Regions from separate parts of the Homo sapiens genome. Here region 1 is linked to region 2. The links are contacts of gene promoters, found by promoter capture Hi-C in human tissues and cell types (Jung and others, 2019). All regions are on one chromosome and are shown on one strand. The core of a region is centred on a gene start or on the middle of the fragment in contact, and the rest is flanking DNA. Distances in the headings are between cores, read along the strand shown. Region 1 has its middle 77 kb from the start of PALS2. Region 2 holds the start of NPY (neuropeptide Y).

What was found. Contacts are between HindIII fragments. The study calls those that stand out against the background at their distance.
Region 1: a fragment that was not itself captured here is called in contact with the fragment with the promoter of NPY in region 2 in 1 of the 25 tissues and cell types used here (H1 embryonic stem cells).

The regions. Positions count from the first base shown.
Region 1 is chr7:24,492,782-24,499,710 of GRCh38, forward strand. No RefSeq gene overlaps it. Among named protein-coding and RNA genes, the nearest start is that of PALS2, 77 kb to the right of the region's middle. The HindIII fragment of the contact is 5,765 bases long and covers 1-5,091 here.
Region 2 is chr7:24,279,742-24,286,401 of GRCh38, forward strand. It overlaps NPY (neuropeptide Y), which reads left to right and starts at 4,449. Exons shown (of 4, transcript NM_000905.4): 1 at 4,449-4,534; 2 at 5,500-5,687. The coding sequence starts at 5,500. All of the region lies in intron 2 of LOC107986777 (a long non-coding RNA gene), which reads right to left. The HindIII fragment of the contact is 14,633 bases long and covers 1-6,660 here.

The DNA.
Region 1 (6,929 bases), core at 959-3,458, 210 kb after region 2:
CTCTCCCCACCCCCAACACTTGGCAAACCTGTTCTTTCTCCCATTCTTCATATTCCTTTCCTCAACTAAGTCTTAAATATTTAAGCGAGGCAGAGAATTTTACAGCAGATAGCAAATGCTCATGAAAGAAATGTATTTTTCTAGCCTTCAATCTGAACACTTTTAATACTGAAGTGATGGAGACCTCAACAATAATCTCAAACATTGCTCAGTATGTGAGATGGGTATGTGTGGATTTGCTCCCTTGGCATTCCTTTCCATAGGGACCTGCCCTATCCAAGCCCTCTGAGGTTCTACAGAGGCTGCCAATTACAGGTCTTCACTCCTCTTGACCACACTGCCCAATCAGAGTCTCGCTTCATGGAACCAGCACACTGAGCAGAGACAGTAGGCAGTTGGAGCCAAGTCACTCAATAACCAAGTATTTCTTTAAAATTCCAAGAGCTGGTCTGAGTACTGCTCTTCTCAAGGTCGGGGGTATCCTTCCTCCTTAAATCTGTGAACCCTCAGGGATTCTTTCAGGCAACATTTTTTTCTTGTGTCAGAGTCTGTTTCTATAACCTAAAATCAGAGAACCCTGATACAAAGGAAAACATACTCAAATATGCACACTGATATTTTAAATTGTTTTCCAAATGGCTAAAGAAAAGATAGATGTGGAAGTTTTATAATGAAACCCAGGATTTGAGACTCTAAAAGGAAATAACAGGTCTCAGAAAGAGAGGGGGATTTGAGGGAGTAAAATCCTGCCTTCATTCTCATTCTTTCTCTCTCTCTCTCTCTTTCAGGCACACATGCACACACTCTAGATGAGAAAGAAAGGGGGAAATATCTATGGAAACCACTGTGGATATCCAAGAGTTTGGAAGTAGTCCTTATTTTTAAAAGACATGCAAAAACTAGAAGAAGGGGCTCAGAATCAAGGCTAAACAGAAAAGATCCTGTGTGAATAGAATTTCAGAGCTCAGATCAAGGTGAAGCTTGTGAAAAATGCTGATATTTGTAGTTGTACATGGAAGATGGGAACAAAAGAAAGTTAAAGGGGAAAAAAACTAATGTTTTTGAGCACTTACTGTATGTCAGGTATTTTACATAGATGACTCAATTGTGAAAAAAAGAAAAAAAGAAGGGTAAGGATACAGATGGTCAAGTCCTTTGTTTGAGGTCATTAATATAACCTTAATAGAGGGAATCTTCTTCCTGTAAACTAGAGAAATTGTAATGTTTTATCTGACACTTACAGGCTGAGTAGAATATAAATGGAGGCCACTTAATCGTATGTCTAAATATTTAGAAGTTATAAGTCGAGCTTGGCTCATGCCCAGCTCATGTTTCCACCCAAGGCCCCACAGCCATCCCAGAGAATCACCCTTGAAATGCAAAGGCTAAAAAAGCCATCCTCTTTCCTGGATGGGAGCACTGATATGCTGGGATAGGGGCAAGATGGAAACTGCTCCTGGGCCCAGGAGCCCAGGGCGGGCACTAGGATAGGGACAAGCCTGGTCATCTGGTCATTATCACCATAGAGAGCCCCAGGCTAATTCCCTTGGCTGCCTTGCTTTTCCAACAGAAGCAGTTCAAAAGGCTTCCCAAAATTACTCCTCAAAAAAGTGCAGTCAGCTGAGAAACCCAGCCTGCCCAGACACCTACTCTGGGGTATTTGGGGTGGTCAACATTAAACACAGCAGCCCAGCTCTTTGCCAGATTTCTAGACAGAGGCTATGATTTTCTTCTAACTACTACCCCGTCGTACTGAGATGGGGGCGTTTCCTTATCTCTCTCACAGGGCATGTGACAGGGGTGTGGCTAGCTTCCCACCTGGCTGCTCAAACCCTAGGGGGAGCATGCAGATGGGCAGGTGCAGAGGCCATGGAGAGTGCTTTTGGGCTCTGGCCCCACAGCAGCATCTAGGACTCCTGAAGCCCAAGTGGGCACGTGTTACAGTATGCTCTTTCAGCTATACCATCTGCAGATGGCTTGTGTTAGTCAGCTTAATAGACCCTCTGCCTTATCACAAGGACAGGTGGCCAGTGTGACAGCCTGAGTTCTTGCCCAGTGTACCAGAAGAATCAGATCACATGTGGGCTGAAAGGCTGAGTGCAAGGTTTTATTGTGTGGTGGAGGTGGCAGATAGATGGGGAGATATATGGGGAGCTGGAAGGGGTATGGAGTGGGAAGGTGGTGTTCCCCTGGAGTTTGGCCACCCAGTGGCCAGACTCTTCTCCAACCATCCCCGGCCTAACTTTCTTGGGCGTCTGTGTCGTTCCACTGTTGCTGGTCTGCCAGTGTCTGCCGGTGTCTGCTGGTGTCTGCTGATGTGTTCCTCTGCTCTTCTCAATGTTCAGCCACTTGTGTCTGTGCCTGCTTAAGGTCTCAGGTTTATATGAGCACAGGATGGAGGGCATGGTGGGCCAAAAAGCAACTTTTTGAGCACAAAAACAGGAATGCTTGTCCCCACTTAGGTCCGTGGGCACAGGCCCACGGGTGGAGCCCTTACCAGGGCTCTCTACCCAGCACTTCCCTGCCACCCCCCATATCGTTACCCACTAAGTACCCCATCATGTGCTCATCCCAGCATCCTCCATCCTCCTGTGAGGCTGGAGTAGGGTCCAGTTCCCACATGTGTCCCTTTACCAAAATTTCCATTTGATCAGTTATCCAATTTTCAAAAAAATCTATAAAACATAAAGAAAAAAAGTATTTCTCTATCAATGTTTGTCATACGTAGAGCCCTCTAAAACCTGTGACCAGGGCAGATGCCCTTATTGCTAGATGTAATAGTGGTAGCATTTGTATCTATACACCTCTTAAAATGTAGCATGCAAAGTTGAAAACAGCATATAAATATAATTTGACCAAGGCAGAATATATTGGGGCTATTACTTTCCATGATCTTGGCACTGTTCTAGCTGTGCAGCCCAAGATTATTAGCTTTTTAAACAGTCACATCATATTGTTGGCTCATATTAAATTAAGAATTAATTTGAACTCTTAGGTTGCTTTCACAGGCGCTTCTACCAAGCCAATTCTCTCCCATTCTATAATTGATGGTTTTGAATCTAAATGCAGGATTTTACATATATTACTATTACATCTTCACTTATTAGTTTTGAATTTTTTTAAGTCATTTGTAGTGTTTGCCATCACTCCTATGCTTCTATCATGGGAAAAATCAGTAAGCTATTCTGTATCTTCATTCAGGTATTTGATTAAAGTGGTAAGTAGGGAAAACAGCAGGTATAGAATCAATGACGGAAGCTTAGAGACAGCAGGTTTCAACCGAGCTGTTTTGAAATGTTATTTCTAACAATTAGTTTTCTATCAATGGAATGGACTTCTTGGGAAGATGTGAGAAGAATTCAAGCAAAAGCCAAATGAGGCTCAGCAGAGGCCATAGAAAGAATTTTTGGATATGTAGACGTCTAAGGACACTTCCAATTCTAAGATTCCATAACTTGATGATTCTAAATTCCAGAGTTATGAGAGAATAGCTTGGCATTCCTCAAGCCCATGTTGGATTGCTATAGGAAACCTTTCAGTGCCCACAGACTAATGCAATGATTATTTTTTAAGATCCCTGCTCCACTCTGTCCCTTTCATTGTTCTTACCATAGCCCACCTTTTTCTATACAGTAGCTGTTGGCCTAAGGGCCTCATTTCATCATAAGCTCCTTGCATTCAAGAACTACATTTTATTTATCTTTATTTCTCTTGTACCTGTAGAACCCAATTTGTACTTAGTGGGTATAATACTAAATTGCAGGTAGGAAACAAGGGAGTGGTTTGGAGTTTGAATCCAGGAGACAGATAGAGCTCCAGGTGCAAAGGGATCTTAGCACTCCCTGAGTAGGTGCTCCATGAAGGCAGAGGCCATGCCCATCTTGTCCTACTCCTCAGCAACCAGCAGAGTGTTTCACATGGTACACACTCTGTGAAATGTTTGTAGAATGAAGGTTGAGTCGACAAGTTTTCTGAGAAGTAATTAACTTTAATTCATTTTCTGAGTAAGTGCTATAGGAGTTAAGAAGAAATTATTTAGGCAGATAGTAAGGGTAAGGAAGTCCTTAGTAAGGTTTTCCTTTTAATGAAAAGCAGCCCCAAAATCATTTTGTTTTCTAACAAAGAGCAGCTTGTAAAATCGAGCTGCACTTGCATGGGTGAATGCCAGCAGCTGTGCTAACAGGAAAGGGCTACCTGGGGGCCACGCATGTCCAATATGGAGGCTCCATCTTCCCCTTTCCTTGTCAACCGCATGCACAGTAAGGAGCAGGCTACATAGCACCGGCCAAGCAGAGACTCCACTTGCATAATAAAAGATTAGGGTGGGGTGGCCGGCTTCCTTGTGCACTATGTAAATGTCATACCTGGCCCAGTCAATCTTTGGGCCCTACGTAAATCAGACACTGCCTCCTCAAGCCTGTCTATAAAACCCTGTGCACTCGCCATGGGCCAGAAGTCCCACTCAGGCGCCCCTCTCTCTCAAGGAGAGAGAGCTGTTCTCCTTTCTCTTTCTTTTGCCTATTAAACCTCTGCTCTTAACCTCACTCCACATGTGTCCGTGTCCTTGATTTCCTTGGCATGAGGCAACAAACCTCGGGTATTTACCCCGGACAACGAGGCCACTTCAGTAGGGCAGGAAGAGGCGAGAGAACATGAGAAGAACTGAATCTGACTCGGTTTAAAAGCACAAACTGGACAGCAAGGCCTCAGTTGTCCTAATTGTTCTAGGAACTCACCCCCAAACCAGTCTCAAGACTTTCCACCTGAGAATAATTCTCTGACCTGAGAGCCTCCTGGTGTCTAACATCTTCCACCTATCACCTTTTGAGTCATACTTCTGTTTTAGAGTAGGCTTGCCAGATTTAGCCAACAAGCAAATATCCAGGATACCCAGTTAAATTTGTATTCTAGGTAAACAAAAATATTTTTTCAAGGTAACTGTGTTTTACGCCATCTCTGAGGCATGCTTATCTTATACTAAAAATAAAAAACTGTTATTATGTGAAATTCAAATTTAACTCGGTGACCTGTATTTTATCTGGCAATCCTATTTGGGAGGCACACTTCGCACTTGCTTTTCATAGAAATTGCCTTTTCTTAAACTGTCACTGGGCCCATGTCCTCAGTCTCATCCCCTTGCACAGCGTTAAATGCAGGCTGGGGATTATTATGGAAGTAACATCAAATGTCGAAATGCTATTTATTAGCCATCACACTGTAGGTCATAAAACTTGTCATCCAATTTAGTACTTGCCCCCATGTTAGAGGGCTAACAGAAAGAAATTGAGTTCCTTTCCTCGGTTTTCACAACAAGTCATTGTCAGAGCCAGAATTATAATCTAAGATTCTGAATTTGGAGGTTCTCTAAATTATATTGCCTCTCTGTGGGAGACTATATTCTCTTTTGCAGTTCTTCCTCTCTTAAAAGTCTTAAAATTGGGCCAGGCATGGTGGCTCACACCTGTAACCCCAGCACTTTGGGAGGCTGAGGCGGGTGGATCACCTGAGGACAGGAGTTCCAGACCAGCCTGACCAACATGGTGAAACCCTATCTCTACTGAAAATACAAAAATTAGCCAGACATGGTGGCACACACCTGTAATCCCAGCTACTCAAGAAGCTGAGGTGGGAGAATCACTTGAACCTGGGAGGCAGAAGTTGCAGTGAGCCCAGATAGTGCCACTGCACTCCAGCCTGGGCAACAGAGAGAGACTCCATCTCAAAAAAAAAAAAAGTATTGAAATTACTTGACAATCCCCTGGGTATATAGCTGAGGGGTTGGGGGAGGGAAGAGCAATGGCATTTGAAAAAGGAAAGCATCTGTTACACATGAGCTTTCCAGAAGGCCACTGCTGTGACCTAAGGCACCTAAATCCGGTTGGAGTCCACTTTGGCATCAGAAGGCTAACTCCAAAATGCTCCTTTAAACAGCACCTGAGGCAAGAGAACAAATACAAGTGACTTCCTCGTGGCCTGTTTGTGCATATCTCTGTGTTGTTCAAGGCCTGAGAAGATTACAAAGGGGGAAAAAAGAAAAGAAGGAACAACAAGCTGGCTGGCTGATTTTTTTTAACCTCTAAGTCCCTTACACACTTTAAGTGACATTCACAAATGGCATAATTTTTGAAAGTTGTTTTTGTGCTGAAAGATTGGATGTTTGATGCCTCAACCCTGTGGTTCTCCCTCCAGCCCAGCCAGGATTCAAAACATCTTTCAGTAAAACCATCTGTTATTTAAAACATTCTTGTGTCTTAAAATATACAAAACTCAAGACCTAACTGCTCATCGAAACCCCAAACACACTCTTTTGGGGCTGGGTTCCTCACAGAGAGCGATTCATAAAACCTTGCTTATTATTTGGAAACAGGTCTGAAGTTTGTCCAATTTTATCCTTTTTGTGGTTCATCATTCTAAAATATTTTGGTGTGGCAACAGGTTATTAGCTTCTTAAACTTCTAGCTGTAATATTGTGCAGAATCCATTTCATTTCATAGCAAAGCAGGAGAGACATAACTTCCAGATGAAGGTAATAGCCGTGCGCATATAGAATTGAACCAGTTTTTCTTTGTCAAAAACTGTGCCACAATTGTCTGAATTACAATCCTGCTTGAAACCTGTTGGAGACCCAGGACATGAAAAATGTCTAGGAATTTTACCGAAAGATCAAGCCATGAGCACACATCTTCTGTGTTATTAAGTATTTGACAACAGGTACCAACCATAGTGACAAGCCCCAAAAGTGTATTTTTTAGGGTGAAATATTTTAATGACTTTGGAATAGACTGGTCTGGAAATATCTTCTTCCTATAACTGCCAAGGTACACGGACAAACTCAATATTATGGTATAACGATGACAGCAGCATTTTAAAGCCTTGGCTGACATCTTTGCTTTTCCACCAGGCAGGCAGCCCAGGTGACAGAAGCTTCA
Region 2 (6,660 bases), core at 3,199-5,698:
TGGTTTGCAATTAGAAGGTCTTACTGATAGCAGGTTTATAACTTGATTCAGATAGAACCTAGATCACAGTGGTTTCATGACTACACCTATGGTGAATAACCAGAGACAATGAATAGAAACATCTTTTTAAAGAAGCCTTGCTACAAGACTTGCTCTTCTGGCCAAGATGAAGAAACAGGAACTGGATTTACCCTCCCTGCTGAAACAACTAAAACACTAGACAAAAATAGATGAAACAACACTTAAAACATTGGACATCAGTAAAGGACAGTAATATCTTAGAGATAGAAAACAAATGACAAGAGCCATACAATGGTCCCAGATCACTGCCTGATATGGTTTGGCTGTGTCCTCACCCAAATCCCATCTTGAATTGTAGTTTCCTTAATCCCCACGTGTTGTGGGAGGGACCTGGTGTGAGATAATTGAATCATGGGGGCAGTTACCTACATGCTGCTGTTCTCATGATAGTGAGTGAATTCTCACAAGATCTGATGGTTTTATAAAAGGTTTTTTCCCCTTTGCTCGCCACTTCTCTCTCCAGCTGCAATATGAAGAAGGACGTGTTTGCTTCCCCTTCCACCATAATTGTAAGTTTCCTGAGGGCTCTCCAGCCATACAGAACTGTGAGTCAATTAAACCTCTTTCCTTTATAAATTACCCAGTCTTGGATATTTCTTCATAGCAGCATGAGAATACACTGCCTGAAGGAGTCATCCAGGCTACAGTGCAGAAGGAAGGAATTGAATCATCCTGGCCAAGGAGCTGGGGCTGGAAGTGTAGGGAGCCAGGGCAGCTAGTGTCCACAGGAAGATTATCAGGTAAAAGAAAGAATACTCTGAAAGTCTGAAGGGTGTCCCCCTTGAGGATTTAGTTGATTATTGATCAGATTATACACAAGAACAAACCACCTGAGACCAGGAAAAGAACTACACAAAAAGATAAGGGTAAACTGTGTCTGATGCTGACCAAGGGCTGGGAATAGTGTCTATCTGAACAGCCAGAGGGGAGAGCTGTGCAATTTGAGGTGTGCGTGTTGGGGGGAAGTCAGTTACCAGTTAAAGTAAAAAGAAGGAATTTTGCCTCAAAGTGTGGAAAGAGTAAACCTAGTCTAAAACCAGCTCTGGTCCCACCTAACAAAACTCACATCCAAGACCTGAATGGATAAAACTGTCTTTAAATTTTTAATTGTCTCAGAACAAGCTCAAGAACAGTCATAGAAAGACAAAAAAACAAATAACAAGGTAAAATCCACAATATCTGACATCCTATCAAAAATTATCAGGCACACAAAGAAGAAGAAAAATATAAGCCATAATGTGGAGAAAAATCAATCAACCCAAAGTATACAAAAATCACACAGATGTTAGTAGTACAAAAGTTATTATTAATGTATATTCAAGAAGCTAGAGAGAAGAGTGGACACGTTTAGATACGGAAGATATAAAAAAGATTCATTGCTTTATATTGTCCTGTAACTTAAAAAAAAGATTCAAGTTGAAACTCTAGAGATGAAAGCTACCAGGTATAAGGTGCAAAATACACTGGATAGGATTGGCAGTAATCAGATATTACAGAAGAAAACATTAGTGAACTCACAGACATAGCAATAGAGACTATCCAAAATAAAATATGAAGGAAAAAATGAGCAAAACAGAAGCAAAAACAGATCACCAACAAACTGTGGGCCAATATACACTCACCGTCTGACTCAGCCATTCTGGTTTTAAGTATTTTCCAAGAGAATTAAAGGCTTTATGTCCATACAAAGACTTGCATATGAATGTCAAGGCAGCTTTATTCGTAAAAGTTTCAAGTGAAAATAACCAAAAATTCATGAGCAGTAGAATTGATTAAAAATTTTGAAGTATATCATATAATGAAATACTGCCCAGCAATAAAAAAGAATAAACTATTGCTACATTTAACAATGTGAGTGGATTCAAAAATAATGATGCTAAGTGAAAGAAGTCAGACAAAGAGTACCTACCGTGGAACTATATTTATGTGCAATTCTAGAAAACGCAAACAAATCTCTAGTGATAGCAGATCAATGGAGGAGGGGGTGAGGAAGAGGCAAAAGGAAGGAATTACAAAGGTACATGTGGAAATTTGGGGAAGTGATGTATAATCTTCATTTTCTTGGTTTCAGTGATGGCTTCCTGAGCATATAACACACATGCATATGTGTAAGAATATATCCAATTGAATATTTTACACATTTGTAGCTTTGTATATATTCAGCAGTATCTATTCATTCCTTCTGCTTCTTTACCTTAGGTTTAGTCATGAAACCACTGGGTTTCATGTGGTCCAGGTTCTATCTGAATCAAGCTATGAACCTGCTATCAGTAAGACCTCCTAATTGCAAACCACATGGACCTTTACCGGTTATTTGACTTCTCTCGGTCATTACCTTCTCTAGTCTCCACTGATTCACCTCCTTTTGAATCTCAACAAGCTCAACAGTATCTCAATGTTATCTTAACAAAGCTGTTAGAAATAAACAACTTGACTTTGAAACAAAGGAGAGAAATGGCTCAGCAGCTAGGAGAAGATGCAGGGTTGAGTTGCCAACAGTTGGTTTTGTTTGTATTTTGGCCAGGGGATGTGGCTTGGACTGGAGAGAAAGGAGATAAGGATGTAAGCACATGTAGGGCATATCACCCCCTATTTTTTATTCTCTGAATCCTTAACCCTCAGAATAAGTTCTTATTCTTGAGAATCAATGACATTATCTTAAGCTAAATTAATCAAGCCTCCACAGTGTTCTTCTCTCAATAGTGGTGTGGGCCTTCCTAGAAGTAATTTTTCCCAAATTCAGTGATACATTTTAAGTTCAGATTTTAATTGATATGAATCTGTGATACACTCTAAAATAAGATTATTTTATTGAAAAGTGGACTGTAACTTTCCCTTTATCTAGGAAGAGCTCTAAGTTAGAAGATGTTTTGCACTTTTACCGAAGGCTGTGTCTTGTAAGCACCCCCGAGCAACTCTGAGAGCCTTGATTTTTGTGTCCTCAGCATATGTTTGTGTAATACAGAAAGAGAAGCAGTTGCCAAGTGAAAGGGATGTTGGTCTCCAAAATTATAGTTTGATCCCACAAACACACAAACACATACATGCAAAGGATTGTTTGCTTCACGGTTTTTGATATTTAATTCAATGCTGTTGGAACAGCACAAAAACTAAGTGTCAGTTTAACAGAATCACTTGTCCTTTTAGCATTAAAATAACATGGAACTTAATGCTTTAATTTCCCAACATGCCTTTTTATTTAGAAAGATTCAGACTTATATTTCATTTAGAAATAAAATGCCATTTTATTTAGAAAGATACAGGAGCATTCATTCACGGAACTTTCAGATCTCAGTCCACTGCATAAAATCTTGATCCTGTAATAATAGTTTCTGTATCTTGCATATTCATTCAACAGGTTTAACGCGATGAGCAAATTAATGTTCATCGTTTTTAACATGTTTCATCTTAATCAGAACCCACATTCTCAACGTTAATTGAACGTACATAGGACTATACAAGGGTTAGTAAATAAGACAGAAACTGTTGTTCATTTAACCACCGTCACTTTGGACCAAAAAAGAAAAAATATATATTTTTAAAATTGAGCTTAAAAGAGTCTCTAGAAGCTGGAAGCGTGGCTCTTTTTCAGCAAACTGGGGGAATAGGTTTACCGTGTTCCCCCTCTGGGGAATTTTGAGTCGCCACACTCATGTCTCGACCGAGCCTGGCTCGCTGCGTCTGAGCGAGTACTTGAGGAAGGCTGATCTAGAAAAACCAGCTGAGAGAAGGGGCAGAAGCCCCTGAAACCACGGGCGGGGGTGGGGTGGGGAGCGCAGCTTTGGGACCCTCTAGCCGGAGACTTCCGGCAGCTGCCTCCGACTTGTTCTAAGTACAGGAAAAATCTGTGCGCCCAGTTGCCTCACTCCAACAGCGCGCAGTTGTGCCCGGCGAGGATGCCGCGCTAGTCGTGGAGATGCCCCACCACAAAGAGGATTCAGGTGCTTCCTACTCCGGCACCCAGTGGGTTGGTAGTCCTGTTGGCAGGAGACAAGAATCGTCTGGGCTGCTCCTATCTCTGGCAGGACTAGACGGGGCGTGAAGGAAAGAAGGAAAGAAGGAAAGCAGGGATCGGGCACTGCCCGAGGGCAGATACTTGGGCTTTGGTGTTGTCCAGCGCGCTCGGAGTGCGCTGCCTCGCTCACGCGGTCCCAGGCCCCGCTTCTTCAGGCAGTGCCTGGGGCGGGAGGGTTGGGGTGTGGGTGGCTCCCTAAGTCGACACTCGTGCGGCTGCGGTTCCAGCCCCCTCCCCCCGCCACTCAGGGGCGGGAAGTGGCGGGTGGGAGTCACCCAAGCGTGACTGCCCGAGGCCCCTCCTGCCGCGGCGAGGAAGCTCCATAAAAGCCCTGTCGCGACCCGCTCTCTGCACCCCATCCGCTGGCTCTCACCCCTCGGAGACGCTCGCCCGACAGCATAGTACTTGCCGCCCAGCCACGCCCGCGCGCCAGCCACCGTGAGTGCTACGACCCGTCTGTCTAGGGGTGGGAGCGAACGGGGCGCCCGCGAACTTGCTAGAGACGCAGCCTCCCGCTCTGTGGAGCCCTGGGGCCCTGGGATGATCGCGCTCCACTCCCCAGCGGACTATGCCGGCTCCGCGCCCCGACGCGGACCAGCCCTCTTGGCGGCTAAATTCCACTTGTTCCTCTGCTCCCCTCTGATTGTCCACGGCCCTTCTCCCGGGCCCTTCCCGCTGGGCGGTTCTTCTGAGTTACCTTTTAGCAGATATGGAGGGAGAACCCGGGACCGCTATCCCAAGGCAGCTGGCGGTCTCCCTGCGGGTCGCCGCCTTGAGGCCCAGGAAGCGGTGCGCGGTAGGAAGGTTTCCCCGGCAGCGCCATCGAGTGAGGAATCCCTGGAGCTCTAGAGCCCCGCGCCCTGCCACCTCCCTGGATTCTTGGGCTCCAAATCTCTTTGGAGCAATTCTGGCCCAGGGAGCAATTCTCTTTCCCCTTCCCCACCGCAGTCGTCACCCCGAGGTGATCTCTGCTGTCAGCGTTGATCCCCTGAAGCTAGGCAGACCAGAAGTAACAGAGAAGAAACTTTTCTTCCCAGACAAGAGTTTGGGCAAGAAGGGAGAAAAGTGACCCAGCAGGAAGAACTTCCAATTCGGTTTTGAATGCTAAACTGGCGGGGCCCCCACCTTGCACTCTCGCCGCGCGCTTCTTGGTCCCTGAGACTTCGAACGAAGTTGCGCGAAGTTTTCAGGTGGAGCAGAGGGGCAGGTCCCGACCGGACGGCGCCCGGAGCCCGCAAGGTGGTGCTAGCCACTCCTGGGTTCTCTCTGCGGGACTGGGACGAGAGCGGATTGGGGGTCGCGTGTGGTAGCAGGAGGAGGAGCGCGGGGGGCAGAGGAGGGAGGTGCTGCGCGTGGGTGCTCTGAATCCCCAAGCCCGTCCGTTGAGCCTTCTGTGCCTGCAGATGCTAGGTAACAAGCGACTGGGGCTGTCCGGACTGACCCTCGCCCTGTCCCTGCTCGTGTGCCTGGGTGCGCTGGCCGAGGCGTACCCCTCCAAGCCGGACAACCCGGGCGAGGACGCACCAGCGGAGGACATGGCCAGATACTACTCGGCGCTGCGACACTACATCAACCTCATCACCAGGCAGAGGTGGGTGGGACCGCGGGACCGATTCCGGGAGCGCCAGTGCCTGCACACCAGGAGATCCTGGGGATGTTAGGGAAAGGGATTGTTTCTTTTCCTTCGCTCTATCCCAGGGCAGGACAGTATCAGGCACTTAGTCAGCTCTAGGTAAATGTTTGTACAGGGCACACTCTACACAAAATGGGTACCTTCCATTTTGTGCAACTACAGTCACAGAGTCGTGATCCCCAGATTCAGGTTCCCCAGGCTGGTAGGCTGGCAATCTCCTCTCACTCACCTCTTATGGTTTGTTGTGGTTCTTACGGCAGTGGGGCCCGGTCCAGAAATCTCGAAAGTACCCAGTGAAAGGGGCAAGAATGCGCCAGAGAAATGCTGTAGGGGGAAACGCTAGCAAGGTGTCTAGGAGAAACAGAACGACCACCAAAGAAAACCAAACCAAGGAGTAAACTGCAGGGTTGCCACAGACATTGTCAGACTTTCCGGCCTGCCCAGGGCTAATTGAATGACAGTATTTAGAAAAAGACAAATAGAGCTATTTTCTTTTCTTCTTCACTGTGTTTTTTTTGCAGTCTCACTCCCATATTTGAAAATTCTAGTCCCAATAATTAGAGATTTAGCCTGAAAACAGTTTATCTAAAATGCAGAGGTCTCCCTATTTTATAGCTGGTGAATTCTGAAAAGAAAGTGCCCACTTGGTATTTCATTAAGAAGAAACTTACGTTGGTCCAGTAACTTTAGGATGAATTCAGGGATTACATGGAATCTGAGAAATTGTAAACTTTATTCTGAACATTCCGAAAGTCAAAATGAAATGCCATATTTTCACTCTCAACATTGACAATTAAGGGAAAAATCAAATCCAAACTATTTTACAAATTACATAGGATTTAAATTTTGTTTTCAAAATTGGTTGATCTTAGTTCTAAATCATTTAATATCTTATTTTAATTACTGAGATTAAATGATTTTAGTCATTTGA